Regions from separate parts of the Homo sapiens genome. Here region 2 is linked to region 1. Evidence: promoter capture Hi-C in human tissues and cell types (Jung and others, 2019). All regions are on one chromosome and are shown on one strand. Each heading gives the region's core, a stretch centred on a gene start or on the middle of the fragment in contact. The rest is flanking DNA. Distances are from core to core; before and after follow the strand shown. Region 1 holds the start of LCT (lactase). Region 2 overlaps MAP3K19 (mitogen-activated protein kinase kinase kinase 19).

What was found. Contacts are between HindIII fragments. The study calls those that stand out against the background at their distance.
Region 2: a fragment that was not itself captured here is called in contact with the fragment with the promoter of LCT in region 1 in 2 of the 25 tissues and cell types used here (lymphoblastoid cells and mesendoderm cells).

The regions. Positions count from the first base shown.
Region 1 is chr2:135,833,566-135,840,613 of GRCh38, forward strand. LCT (lactase) reads right to left here and starts at 3,619. Exons shown (of 17, transcript NM_002299.4): 1 at 2,965-3,619. The coding sequence starts at 3,604. MCM6 (minichromosome maintenance complex component 6) reads right to left here. Exons shown (of 17, transcript NM_005915.6): 17 at 6,061-7,048. The HindIII fragment of the contact is 17,432 bases long and covers 1-7,048 here.
Region 2 is chr2:135,008,975-135,016,022 of GRCh38, forward strand. The region is part of intron 5 of MAP3K19 (mitogen-activated protein kinase kinase kinase 19); the gene reads right to left. Among named protein-coding and RNA genes, the nearest start is that of MAP3K19, 35 kb to the right of the region's middle. The HindIII fragment of the contact is 8,965 bases long and covers 1-7,048 here.

The DNA of each region.
Region 1 (7,048 bases), core at 2,369-4,868:
CCTCCCGAGTAGCTGGGACTACAGGGGCCCGCCACCACGCCCGGCTAATTTTTTGCATTTTTGGTAGAGACGGAGTTGCACCGGGTTAGCCAGGATGGTCTCGATCTCCTGACCTCATGATCTGCCCGCCTTGGCCTCCCAAAGTGTTGGGATTACAGGCGTGAGCCACCGCGCCCGGCCATCTTAACTATTTTTAAGTGCACAGTTCAGTATTATTAAGTATATTCACATTGTTGTGCAACCAATCTCCAGAACTTTTTCATTTTTCTGAACAGAAATTCTACTCCCATTAAAGAGCTCTCCATTTCTCCCCTACCCCAGCCCCTGGCCTCTGCCATTCTCCTTCCTCTCTCCATGAATTCGACTGCTCTAGTTTCCTCCTATACATGGAATCATACAGCGTTTGTCTTTTTGTGTCTGGCTTATTTCACATAGCATAATGTCCTCAAGGTTCATCCATGTTGTAGCATGTGATGATTTCTTCCCTTTTTAATAAATGTGGAGTAATATTCCATTTTATGTCTATGCCACGTCTCGTTTATCCATTCATCCATCAGTGGATATCTGGGTTGCTTCCACCTTTTGGCTATTGTGAATAAGGCAGCTATGATGTCCTAGTTTATTTTTCATTTATTTTTGAGACAGAGTCTCGCTCTGTCGCCCAGGCTGGAGTGCAATGGCGCAGTCTCGGCTCACTGCAACCTCCGCCTCCCAGGTTCAAGCGATTCTCCTGCCTCAGCCTCCTGAGTAGCTGGGACTACAGACACGTGCTACCACGCCTCGCTAATTTTTTGTATTTTTAGTAGAGATGGGGTTTCACCGTGTTAGCCAGGATGGTCTCGATCTTCTGACCTTGTGACCCGCCTGCCTCAGCCTCCCAAAGTGCTGGGATTACAAGCGTGAACCACCACGCCTGGCCTTATTTTATTTTTTTGTTTAAGGCCGGGCGTGGTGGCTCACGCCTGTAATCCCAGCATTTTGGGAGTCCGAGGCGGGCGGATCACCTGAGATCAGAAGTTTGAGTCCAGCCTGGCCAACACGGTGAAACCCCATCTCTACTAAAAATACAAAAATTAGCCAGATGTGGTGGTGCGTGCCTGTAATCCCAGCTACTGGGAAGGCTGAGGCAGGAGAATTGCTTGAACTCGGGAGGCAGAGGTTGCAGTGAGCCGAGATCACACCACTGCACTCCAGCCTGGACAAAAGAGTGAGACTCCATCTCAAAAAAAAAAAAAAAAAAAAAAAGAAGAAGAAAAAAATGTTTAACGTCTCTATAATCAAATACATGCAAATTAACAAGACATGAAAATAAGCTGTTTTCAGCTGTCAAATTAGTAATAAAATATAGCATTTGAAACTGACAGAATGGGGTCAGAGAGTAATTTTATAACTGTTCGTATAAATGATTACAACTTTTCTGGAAAATAATTTAGTACCATGCTTTAAAATCTTAAAGAATGCAGATCTTTTCACCTAGTAGTTTCAATTCTAAGATTCTGTCAGAAAGAATTTATCAGAAGGTGGGAAATAGTTTATAGATAGGAATGTCATTGCAACATAACTTGTAACTAGTGAAAATTAGAATAAACATACAAAAATAAGGAAAATACCTTAAACTTTATGCTCCATTTATACAATGGGAACCTAAAAGACCATTGAAAGTTATGCTTTCAAGTTTTTCTTTTGTTTTAAGCAATACTATTCCAGCACTGGAGTAAATTATTATATTATTTTAGAGATAGTGGCTCTCTATGTTGCCCAGGCTGGTCTCCAACTCCTGGCCTCAAGCAATCCCCCTGCCTTGGCCTCCTAACGTGCTGGGATTATAGGCATGAGCCACCATGCCTGGCTCAAGTTTTTAATAAAATGAGAATATAGTCATAAACTATGTTAAAATGAAAAAGTAGAACATAGAAGTATATATATATATATATATATATATATATATATATATATATATATATATCAGGTACTATATATACAAATATGTATGTATATGGTATATAATAAAAACAAGAAAGCATATATAATCCAAAATTGATTCTCAAAATTGGTGTACCTAACATACACTTAGGGAATTGATTATAATCACAAATGTCCTGGTTCAGCCTAGGCCTACAGATCAGAACTTCAAGTCCCCTAGGAGGCAGGAATGTGAACAGTTACAGTTGTGCTCTCCTCATCCTGTGATATATAATTGTTTCATCTTGTATTTGTCTGTCTCCCAAGCTGCAATGTAAGCTCCAACTAAGACATGTAAGTATAGGGGAGCCGAGGGGGAAGGACAGGAAACCACGAAACTTTGCCTCCAAGTCAGGGTAGCAGGACATAGACGGAAAGGAAGACAGAAAGACAATCAGTGCTTGCACAACTCAAGACTGGGCAAGGGGTATTTCAAAAATACATGTGTGTATATATATATATATATATATATATATATATATATATATGTATACATATTTTTTTTTTTTGAGATTGTGTCTTGCTCTGTCGCACAGGCTGTAGTACAGTGGCATGATTTCGGCTCACTGCAACATCTGCCTCCTGGGTTCAAGCAATTCTCCTGCCTAAGCCTCCCGAGTAGCTGGGATCACAGGCGCCTGCTACCATCCCTGGCTAATTTTGGTATTTTTAGTAGAGACGGGGTTTTGCCATATTGGCCAGGCTGGTCTCGAACTCCTGACTTCAAGTGATCCGCCCACCTCGGCCTCCCAAAGTGCTAGGATTACAGGCGTGAGCCTCAAAGATATTTTTCAAAGGAAATGCTGAGTGTTTTGCCATGTTAGCTACCCCTTCCTATCGCCAGTGGGAAATCAATTTACAATATTAATTTCTCCCTATGCACAGACATAAGAGGACTGCTGAAGGTGAGTTGGGAGAAATGTCGAATCTGCTCTAAGGAGGATGGGGAAGGTGTGTGATGAAGGTTGCCGAGGGGTCACCATCAGGTCAATGTGTACTCACCCTGAAAAGCATAGCTTTCGTGGTAAATCTCATAGGCTTTTCTGTGGGCATCACTGAGGGTCTGGAGTTGTGACGCTCTTGATTCCTGGTGGGGAAGCTCCTTGATCACTTCCTCCAAGTCACTGAAGGTGAACCAGATCCCAACTAGGTCCCCGAAGGAGTGGAAGGCGAATGTGGCATAGTCGGCGAAGAGGTCAGCAAAGGCTTCGGTTCTCCGGAGGGTGCTGGCAGGGAGGGTCTGGTGGTGCAGGATGACCATGGGCTGAAGCCGTGCAGTCTTGAGGGCCTTGAGGAGTCGCCGGTAGCACTGCACTGTTTTCTCGTCTGGATTCTGGGTGCTTCCTGCTGGGAGGAGCTGTGCCCATGACAGAAATACCTTATAATGGGTGATCTGACTGGCATGGAGACTGCTGAAGTATTCTGGCAGGAAAGTGGGCAGTGGCTGGTGACAAACATACATGTCTTTGTCCCCTGCTACAAAGTTAGAACTCTGGTCTCCCAGGAGACCACTCAGGTTGTGCAGCAAGTCATTGGTTAGAGGACCAGCGGTGGAAATGAAATTTCTATCAGACTCCCAGTCTGACCCCCAGCATGAAAAACTTAGCAGGGCAATAAAGACTACATGCCAAGACAGCTCCATTTTCTAGGAACTGTTAGGAGGTATGTGGAACCCTTACTTTATAACTGCAACTGAGGTTGTAAAATACTAAGTGATAATTAAGACTTAATATTTAACTGGGTTATCTATGATCACAAAATCAGTACACGGTTCACTAATGCAATATTTAAAAATGTAAAGATCAGGGCCGGGCGTGGTGGCTCACACCTGTAATTCCAGCACTTTGGGAGGCCGAGGTGGGCGGATCACGAGGTCAGGAGATCGAGACCGTCCTAGCTAACATGGTGAAACCCCATCTCTACTAAAAATACAAAAAATTAGCCAGGCATCGTGGCATGCGCCTGTAGTCCCGGCTACTCAGGAGGCTGAGGCAGGAGAATCACTTGAACCCAGGAGGCGGAGGTTGCAGGAGCCAAGATCATGCCACTGCACTCCAGCCTGGGCAACAGAATGAGACTCCATCTTAAAAAAAAAAAAAAAAAAAAAAGGTAAAGACCAACACAAAAACCTCAGACTTCCTATACAAGTTAAGCAGAGGAACCCGGAAAATGTCTGAAGAAAACGATTACCAATTTTTTTTGTTTTTTTTGTTTTTTGGTGACCGGGTCTCACTCTGTTGCCCAGGTGGGAGTGCAGTGGTGCGATCACAGCTTCCTGCAGCCTTGACTTCCTGGGCTCAAGTGATCCTCCCATCTCAGCATCCTGGGTAGGTGGGACCATAGGTGTGCGCCACCACGACTGGCTAATTTTTTGTATTTTTAGTAGAGATGGAGTTTTGCCATGTCACCCAGGCTGGTCTTGAACTCCTGGGCTCAAGCAATCCTCTTGCCTCAGCCTCCTAAAGTGTTGGGATTACAGGTGTGAGCCAGCGCACCCAGCCACACATTATTTTAAAATTTGTTTACATAATACAAAAATAAGTATTTTGCCCCAAATTTTCTCTTTAAAAATATGCTGAACATATTTTGTAAGAGATTCAAACAATATGGAAACATCTATGAAAAACTTGCAAATTCCTTCACCCTCCCCCCTCCTCTTCCTATAATAAGTATCTTCAGCAATATGTATCTTTCCAGTTTTCTTTCTCTGCATATCTTAATGGTTATACAGGAGTCAGAATGCCTGGGTTTAAATCTCACCTGACAAAAATTACTTAACTTTGTGCCTCTATTTTGTCACCTGTAGAATGTGGATAATTCATCATAGGCTGTGGGGATTAAATGGGTCTTTCTTGTAGCATGTATACAACAGTACAGCTCAGGGATCATTATTATTACGTAAATACAAATGGAAACGTGTATAACATTTAAAATATAGAACAATTTAACATATATGGAATTATGCCATATGTATTTTCAGCCTTTTCTTCACTTAATAGCTCTTAGAGTTCTGCCTGTATCAGAACATATAGACCCACCTCTAACAGATGCATAGCTTTCCACAGCAAGAATGTACCATAAATTAACATCTTGCATATTAAACACCGGTTGGTTTTACATTTTTGTGTTGCAAACAATGCTGCAAATGAATATCCTTATATACAGGCTGGGCATGGTCAATCACGCCTGTTTTGCCAGTACTTTTGGAGGCTCAGACTGTAGGACTGCTCAAGCCCAGGAGCTTGAGGCCAGTCTGGGCAACACAGGGAGATCATCTCAAAAAAAAAAATGGTTTTTGATTGATTGAAATGCAAATTGTCTTCCAAGTTAAATCCTACATAGAGTTAGATGTGTGCCTGTATCCGTCTGCCTTGCTAATGCCTATTATAAAACTTTTACATTTTTGATACTTTGACGTAAATATTATGTGCTTTTCTTTTTCTGATTATTTAAGAGGTGAAGCTCTTCTTGTTAATTGGGCATTTTTCTTCTGAGTTTTATCTTATTACTGATATAAAAATTCTTAATGGGAGTTTGGATATCACATATTAAAACGTGATAGAAAAATTTTCCCATCTTTTAATTTGGTTTATAGTGTCTGTTTTTTTTTAATAGACTCCCATGACTTTCCATAGACTGTAGAGGGTGAAGCCTGGGAATCTTTTTTTGTTGTTGTTGTTGCCGCCCAAGCTGGAGGGCAGTGGCATGATCTCAGCTCACTGCAACTTCCACCTCTTGGGTTCAAGCAATTCTCCTGCCTCAACCTCCTGAGTAGCTGGGATTACAGGTGCCCACCACCATGCCTGGCTAATTTTTGTACTTTTAGTAGAGACAGGTTTTCTCCACGTTGGCCAGGCTTGTCTCGAACTCCTGACCTCAGGTGATCTACTCACCTTGGCCTCCCAAAGTGCTGGGATTACAGGCGTGAGCCACCGTGCCTAGCCTTTTTTTTTCTTAAGTGAAAGCAAGGCTATTAGGAAAGTAAAGGAATAAAAAATGGTTACTACGTCAGCAGAGCAGCCTAGTCTTTAAAGATACATTACCTGATACCAGTCTTCTTATAAAAATCCCATGACAAATCTACTTGAGTATTCACTCTTGTTTTTAATGTTTGCCATTTATTTTTAAAATACTTAATTGTACATACTTGTGGAGTACATTTTGACAAGGTTTCATACAAGTTGATTCCAGGGAAAGAGATAATTATTGGGAGAAACATATTTAAATCATTGTTTTAACCTATATTAATCTGTCTTGCTTTCTACTAATAGATTTCTGGCTGCTCAAATTCACATTGCACTGGAAAGCTCAGACATCAAGGCAAGTTGAGTACTCATGGGTATTAGACTGTCCCACGTGGGCCTTAGCCTCAGACAGTTATTTTGCTTTTGTGACCTTTAACATACTTTGTGATTTAATGAATGCCATCTGTTGTTAAAAGCTGCAACACAGGAACTGCTCCACCTCATGAACATACTGATCATAGCTAAGTCTCAGGAACTGTTAGTATCATAAACGGTAATAACTTTTCCTGGAAGACCATAAAATTTGGGGATTGCTTGTAATATAGCAAATGACCTATTTCCCCTAAAAAAGCAATTTGAAAACAATCCTGAGAAATTACCCTTAGGACACAGAAGTAAAATAAATTACTAAAGAGTAATTTTAAAAAAGTATAATAAACTTTTATAAACTTAAAAAAAAAAAAAAACAACTGGAATTAACCTTGGAAAGTCATCTCTAAGGCCTCTAGCTTTCATATGAGTTCTCTAATGACTCCTTCTCATAGAAACCTCATCCATAATACCACAGTTCTACCTCTTCACTCCAGGTTAAGCAAAAAGGGAAAGTCTCACATTCAGAAGTAGATGGAAGTAATAATCAGGGTACAGTAGAAAGAAATCCAATAGACAACTTCAGAACAAGTTATTTTATTTTGATGAATAAAAGCAGTAGCTGGCAATTGAAAAAAAGTTATTTGCTCAATAGGACAGCACATACCTTAAAAGTAATGGGCCTTTTCTTACACATGAAAACAAAGGTATTGGTTATAGAGACTACACATTATTTGGTTCCAACTTCACTG
Region 2 (7,048 bases), core at 1,821-4,320, 830 kb before region 1:
AGAGTCTTGCTCTGTTGCCCAGGCTGGAGTGCTGTGGTGCAATCTCGGCTCACTGCAAACTCCACCTTCCAGGTTCAAGCGATTCTCCTGCCTTAGCCTCCCAAGTAGCTGGGGTTACAGGTGCCCACCACCATGCCTGGCTAATTTTTTTTTTTTTTTTTTGTATTTTTAGTAGAGATGGCGTTTCAATATGTTTACCAGGCTGGTCTCGATCTCCTGATCTCAAGTAATCCACCTCCCTCTGCCTCCCAAAGAGCTGGGATTACAGGCACCTGCCACCACGTCTGGCCGACTTTTCATTTTATTATATTTAATGTAATAGATGGAATTGGTCTTCTTATTATTGTTTGAATGTTCATACTTTGATTAATAGAAAAGTTGGAGATAGTTTTAGATGCTTATGGGTCATTTGAATTTTTCTTTTTTAGTATTATATATAGTTTTTGTGTAGATCCTTAGTCTAGAACACTCTAAGAGACCTCAAAACACATTTCTACCATTTCATTTAATTACAGTGATTCAGTGAAATTTTTATGCTGAGCTTTGAGAAAACAGCAGCCTTCATTTGGAAGTGTTAGTCATACAGCAGGTTCTCACATCAAGTTTCCATGTTGATTACTGGGCTGTGGTCAATCTCAGCTACTCAGTTCATTTGTCAGTTGGTCCTGTAGGAAAAGTTGGAAGCCGGCAGTGTGGTCATACCCACCTACAAAATCCATAATGATGACTAGCATTTACATATATAGTACCAGACACTGTTCTATATGCGTTACACATATTAACCCATTTATCTCGGAGGTTGCAAATTTTTTTGTGTGAAAAATCAGACCTTGGCAATGACCTTGAGCAGTGGGATATAAATAACCCCCACAAGCTCACCGTTCCAATAATGGAACACTAAGCATAAATGGGTTAACTAATTTAATCCTCACAACTCTAAAGTTAGGATCTATTATCTTCATTTTGTACCTGAGGCCCAGAAAAGTTAAGTAGCTTACACGAGGTCACACAGCTAGCCAGTGGCAGAGCCAGAATTTACACCCAGACTGTGAAATCTGGGTCCAGAGGTTGTGACCACTCAGTGATCTTGTTAGCATGAAAAGTTTGAAACAATGAATTTCAACAAGAACCAGAAAAAAAAAAAGAATTAATGAGCAAAATAAAGGGAAAGGATACTCAAACCTAATTGATAAGTTTTGCATAGAAAAAATAATAATAAAAGATGTGTGATCCCTATAAGTACCTGACAAAAATTTAAACCCTGGAACAAACTGAAAAACCATAAGTATCACAATCAAAAAGGATGTAGGGAGTAAGATCTACTTTGAAGGTGATGACGGAAGTGAAGACTCAAACAGAAACAGCTCAGAATTTTCTAACTTATTTTATAAATCTAACCAGCAATGACTTTAAGATGTGCTTGGGTGCCACAAGGAGGAGAATTGAAATAGTGTCATCTAGGAGTGAGTAAAAGAGAGAAAACATCAGAATAGCAAGTCCCAAACATAGATGGATTTCATAAACCATTGACAACACCACGGGAGCTGATAGATGGATAAGAAATAGAGCATCGCATTCTAGCCTGCAGACAACAGCATACCAAACATACAGAATGTAAAGGCACGATGGAAATCAGACGTGATTAAAGTTTTTTTATTTTTATATTTTAGAGACATGGGAGCTCACTCTGTCGCCGAGGCTGGAATGCAGCAGCACAATTATAGTTCACTGCAGCCTCAAACTCCTGTGTTCAAGTGGTTCTCCCACCTCAGCCTCCAGGAAGTAACTGGAACTACAGAGGCACGCCCCCATAACCAGCTAATTTTTTAATTTTTTTGTAGAGACAAAGTCTTATTATGTTGCCCAGGGGTGTCTCGAATGCCTGGACTCAAGGGATCTTCCCACTTCAGCCTCCCCAAGTGCCGAGATCACAGACATGAGCCACCATATCCAGCCTATGATAAAATTTTGAAAGAAGATTCTCCTCAGGTGAAAAAAGATGACTGGGCGAGTCTATAACGAGCCTCTCTGGAGCTGTCCTACATGCAAGGCAGCTGCTTATATTTGTAAACTATAAAAACCTATTTCAGACAACCAAAAAGAAAACAAAGCTTTCATTTAAAGAAAAGAGTGAAAGGGATTTAAACCCCAGTTAAACCACTAGGGAAGGAAAGGCAAATATAATACTGAAAAAGTCCATTTCTCCCTCAAAAAGGAGTTTAAACTTTATTTCGGCTACAATAAGAAAAAACACCTAATGAAAGGTTTTTAAAAAAAGTTTTGCCAGGCGCGGTGGCTCACGCCTGTTATCCCAGCACTTTTGGAGGCCAAGGCGGGTGGATCACGAGGTCAGGAGATCGAGACCATCCTGGCTAACACGGAGAAACCCCGTCTCTACTAAAAATACAAAAAATTAGCCAGGCGTAGTGGCGGGCCCCTGCAGTCCCAGCTACTCGGGAAGCTGAGGCAGGAGAATGGCGTGAACCCGGGAGGCGGAGCTTGCAGTGAGCCGAGATCGCGCCACTGTACTCCAGCCTGGGCGACAGAGCGAGACTCTGTCTCAAAAAAAAAAAAAAAAAAGTCTTAAAGTTGCCTCAAAAAATGTACTGATCAGGCACGGTGGCTCACACCTGTAATTCCTGCACTTTAGGAGACAGAAGTGGGAGAATCTCTTGAGACTAAGAGTTTGATGTTGTTTGTTTGTTTGTTTGTTTGTTTGTTTTTTAGAAACAGACTCTCCCTCTGTCATCCTGGCTGGAGTGCAGTGGTGTGATCATAGCTCACTGTAACTTTGAACTCCTGGGCTTGAATGATCCTGTTGCCTCAGCCTCCCAAGTAGTTGGTTCTACAGGTGCATGCCACCACACCTGGCTGAGGCCAGGAGTTTGAGACCAGCCTGGGCAACATAGTGAGACCCCATCTCTACAAAAATGTTTTTAAACATTTATTTCAATGTATTAATATGAAGTGATATAGTTAGTCCTTTTAAAAAGAAAATTGCTTAAATAGACCATAAAAATAAAAAGTATGTTTTTGTTTATCAATATCTTATGCATGACACTCACCTTAAAGATTTGTCTCTAGGTATTTTATTTTGATTACTATATAATATTAGTAACCAAACACAGTGCAACCTTCAATATTGTGACAACATGTAGCAAATTTCTCAGTCTCTGCACTGTTGACATTCAAGACCAGATAATTCTTGGCTGTGGGGGCTGTCGTGTGTCTGATAGGATGTTTAGGAGCGTCCCTGGCTTGTACCCACAAGATGCCAGTTGCATTCTCCCCTAGTGATGATACCAGAAATGTCTGCAAACATTGTCAAATGACCCCCTAGGGTGGGAGGGGTGGGAGGTGGGCGCTGGGAATCACTCCCTTGTTGGGAACCAGGGTACTAAATTCCACTTTGGTAGGAAGCAGACTAAACTACTTAGAAAATTTATAAATGCGCAAAGCTAAAATATTCAAATAGGATTTAAAAAGGAATGTTTCCATGGTAGCTCATCCCATCCCATGTCCCAGAGAAGTCTTGATTTAACCGTTTATTTTTAATTTTCACTTAATTTTTATCAAAATTAAACTGCACATGTAAAAAAAATCAAATAATGGTAAAAGACTTATACCGAGAAAAACAGTCACCGTTTTCCTCAGAGGCAACCACTTCCAAACTTTTAGCTGTTTCTTTTGGTATTTTCTTCCGTATTTCTGCATAGTTATCATGCTGTCTCTTGATTCATCAAAGTGAGGCATCATCTATTGACTTATTATGGCAGTTAATAATTTAATGTTCTTATGCCCTGCCTCCATCCTCCCAATACATTTACCTTCTTTGCTGTTAAATCAATAGTCAATGGCTAATTTTGATTATGAGGATATTGTACTATGTAGTAGTACAATTGTAATATAGTATGATTATGCTTTCTTTCTTGTATAACTGTTTTATTTTCCAGAACAAACCCCCAAACCCTTGTTTGTTTGTTTGTTTGTTTGTATGTTTGTTTGAATAGACTTTATTTTTAGGGACATTTTAAGTTCACAGAGAAATTAAGAGGAAGGTATAGGCCGGGCACAGTGGCTCTCGCCTGTAATCCTAACACTTTGGGAGGCCAAGGTGGATGGATCTCCTAAGGTCAAGGGTTTGAGACCAGCCTGGTCAACATGGTGAAACCCTGTCTCTACTAAAAATACAAAAATTAGCCAGACATGGTGGTGCATGCCTGTAACCCCAGTTACTCAGGAAGCTGAGGCAGAAGAATCACTTGAACCCAGGAGGTGAAGGTTGCAGTGAGCCAAGATCGCGCTCCAGCCTGGGCGACAGAGTAAGAGTCCGTCCCAAAAAAAAAAAAAAGAAGAAGAAGAAGAAGAACAAGGTATAGGGATTTCCCATATACCCCCTGCTCCCATACATGCACAGCCTCACCCATTATTAACATCGCCCTCCAGAGTGGTACATTTGTTACAGTTGTCTGTAGTTAACATTAAGGTTCACTCCTGGTGTTGTACATTCTATGGGTTTGAACAAATGTATAATGACCTGTATCCACCATTATAGAATCATACAGAGTAGTTTCAGTGCCCTAAAAATCTTCTTTGCTCTGCCTATTCATCCTTCCTTCCCCTCATCCCTTGGTTTTTTAATTTCTAGTTGGTTTATTTTATTTACTTTCTTATGTCCTTTTATTTAAAGCCTAAATCTTCCCAACCTACAATGGTCTTGCCACTTGGTGAAATTTATCAGACAACAATATCTGTTCTGTTTCCCTCCTCTGTCCTGCTCCCTGCCCCCACCCCAATCCCCCAATCATCTGAGCTCTTTGTTTTCTAGAGTTGCTAATTAGCTGAAGTCCTGGGACCTGCCTTCTTCATTATACCAATGATTCCCTCCTCTCTCTTGATCCTCTGAGTCACAGATCCTATTTTTTCCTCTTTCTTTATTTACTTTTTCAATTTAATAGAGCACTTAGTAGCTTCCTTAAAAGGTATATCAGAAGTAATATGTTTGAGATTTCTGTGTCTGAAAAATGTCTTTATTCAACTCTAATGCTTAACTGAGAGTTTGTTTGGGCATAGAATCCTAGTTTGAAAACCACATTCATTCGGGCCAGTGGTTCACATCTGTAATCCCAGCACTTTGGGAATCTGAGGTGGGCAGATCACTTCAGGCCAGGAGTTCGAGATCAGCCTGGGTGACATGGTGAAACCCCATCTCTACAAAAAAATGCAAAAATTAGCGGAGCCTGGTGGAGCATGCCTGTAATCCCAGCTACTTAGGAGGCTGAGGTGGGAGGTTTGCTGAAGCCTGGAAGGCGGAGGTTGCAGTAAGCTGTGATCATGCCACTGGCCACTGCACCCCAGCCTAGGTGACAGAGTGAGACCCTGTCTCCAAAAAAGAAGAAAAGAAAAAAAAAAGGCATGTTGTCCAGGCTCGTCTCAAACTCCTGGGCTCAAGTTATCCTCCCATCTCAGCCTCCTGAGTAGCTGGGACCACAGGTACAGGTATCCACAGCCATGCCTGGCTGAAAACCATATTCTTTTTTGTGTGTGTCAGATATTTGAAGACATTCCCTACTCCACCCCTTTTCCATTACTTTTGATTTTAGTATAGCATACATTCAGAAAAGTTCACTTACCATATGTGTATAGATTAATTTTAATAAACCCAATACATTTGTGTATCCAGGACCCAGATCAAATAAAAGAACACTACCAATATCCCCAAAGAACACTCTCATGCAAGTGCTATTCTGAATTCTAACACCATAGATTAGCTTTGTTATTCCTCCTTTTGTTTTTATATAAATAGACCCATACAGGATTTAATTTTTTATGTCTGGTTTCTTTTGCTCAACAGTGTATTTGTGAGATTCATCTGTATTTTTGCATGTAATTTTAGATCATTCACTCTCATTCTCATTTATGTGTAGTTTTACACTATGTGAATATACCACAATTTATGTATCCTTTCTATTCTTGATAGGCACTTGGGTATTTTCCATTTGGGGGCTATTATAATAGTGCTGCTATGATCATTATAATATGTAGCTTATGGTAAACATATGATGCATTTCTGTTAGGTATGTATTTAGGAGCAGAATTGCTGGATTATGGAGTATGCATATATTTCTCTTTAACAGACACCAAAAGACAGCTTTCTAAATTATTCTAACAGTTCATTCTCCCATCAGCAGTGCATGAAAGTTCTTGTTGCCCTACATCCTTGTCAACACTTGATATTTCCCAACTTGTAAAATTGTAATCATTCTGTGGATGTGCAGTGTTATCACATTGTTGTTTAAAATTACATTTATCTAATGACTAAAAGCTGAGCATCTTTTAATATATTTTGTTGGCCATTTAGACATCTTTTTTTTGCTAAGTGTCTGATCAAGTTTTTGCCCACTTTCTATTAGCCTATCTGTTCCTAATTTGTGGGAGTTTTTAAATTTTTTCTGAATGCAGGTCCTTTGTCAGATACATACATTTTAAGTATCTTTTCTCACCTTATGAGTTGCTTATTATTATCTTAATGATGTCTTTAGATAAAAAGAAATGCTTCATTTAATATAGCCCATTTAATTAACTTTTCTTTTATGGCAAGCATTTTTTGTGATGTGTGTTCTGTTGTAAAAATTGTTGGCCGGGCACAGTGGCTCATGCCTGTAATTCCAGCACTTTAGGAGGCCGAGGTGGGTGGATCACGAGGTCAGGAGATCAAGACCATCCTGGCCAACATAGTGAAACCCCATCTCTACTAAAAATACAAAAATTAGCCGGGCATGGTGGTGCATGCTTATAATCCCAGCAACTCGGGAGGCGGAGGCAGGAGAATCCCTTGAACCAGGGAGTTGGAGGTTGCAGTGAGCCGAGATTGCACCACAGCACTCTAGCCTGGCAACAGAGCGAGCCTCCATCTCAAAAAAAAAAAAAATATTTGTTGCCAGCTCCAAGGTCACAAAGATTTTCTTACATTTTCTTTCAAAAGGGTTAGTGTGGTCAGGCAAAATGGCTCACATCTATAATTCCAGCACTTTGGGAGGATGAGGCA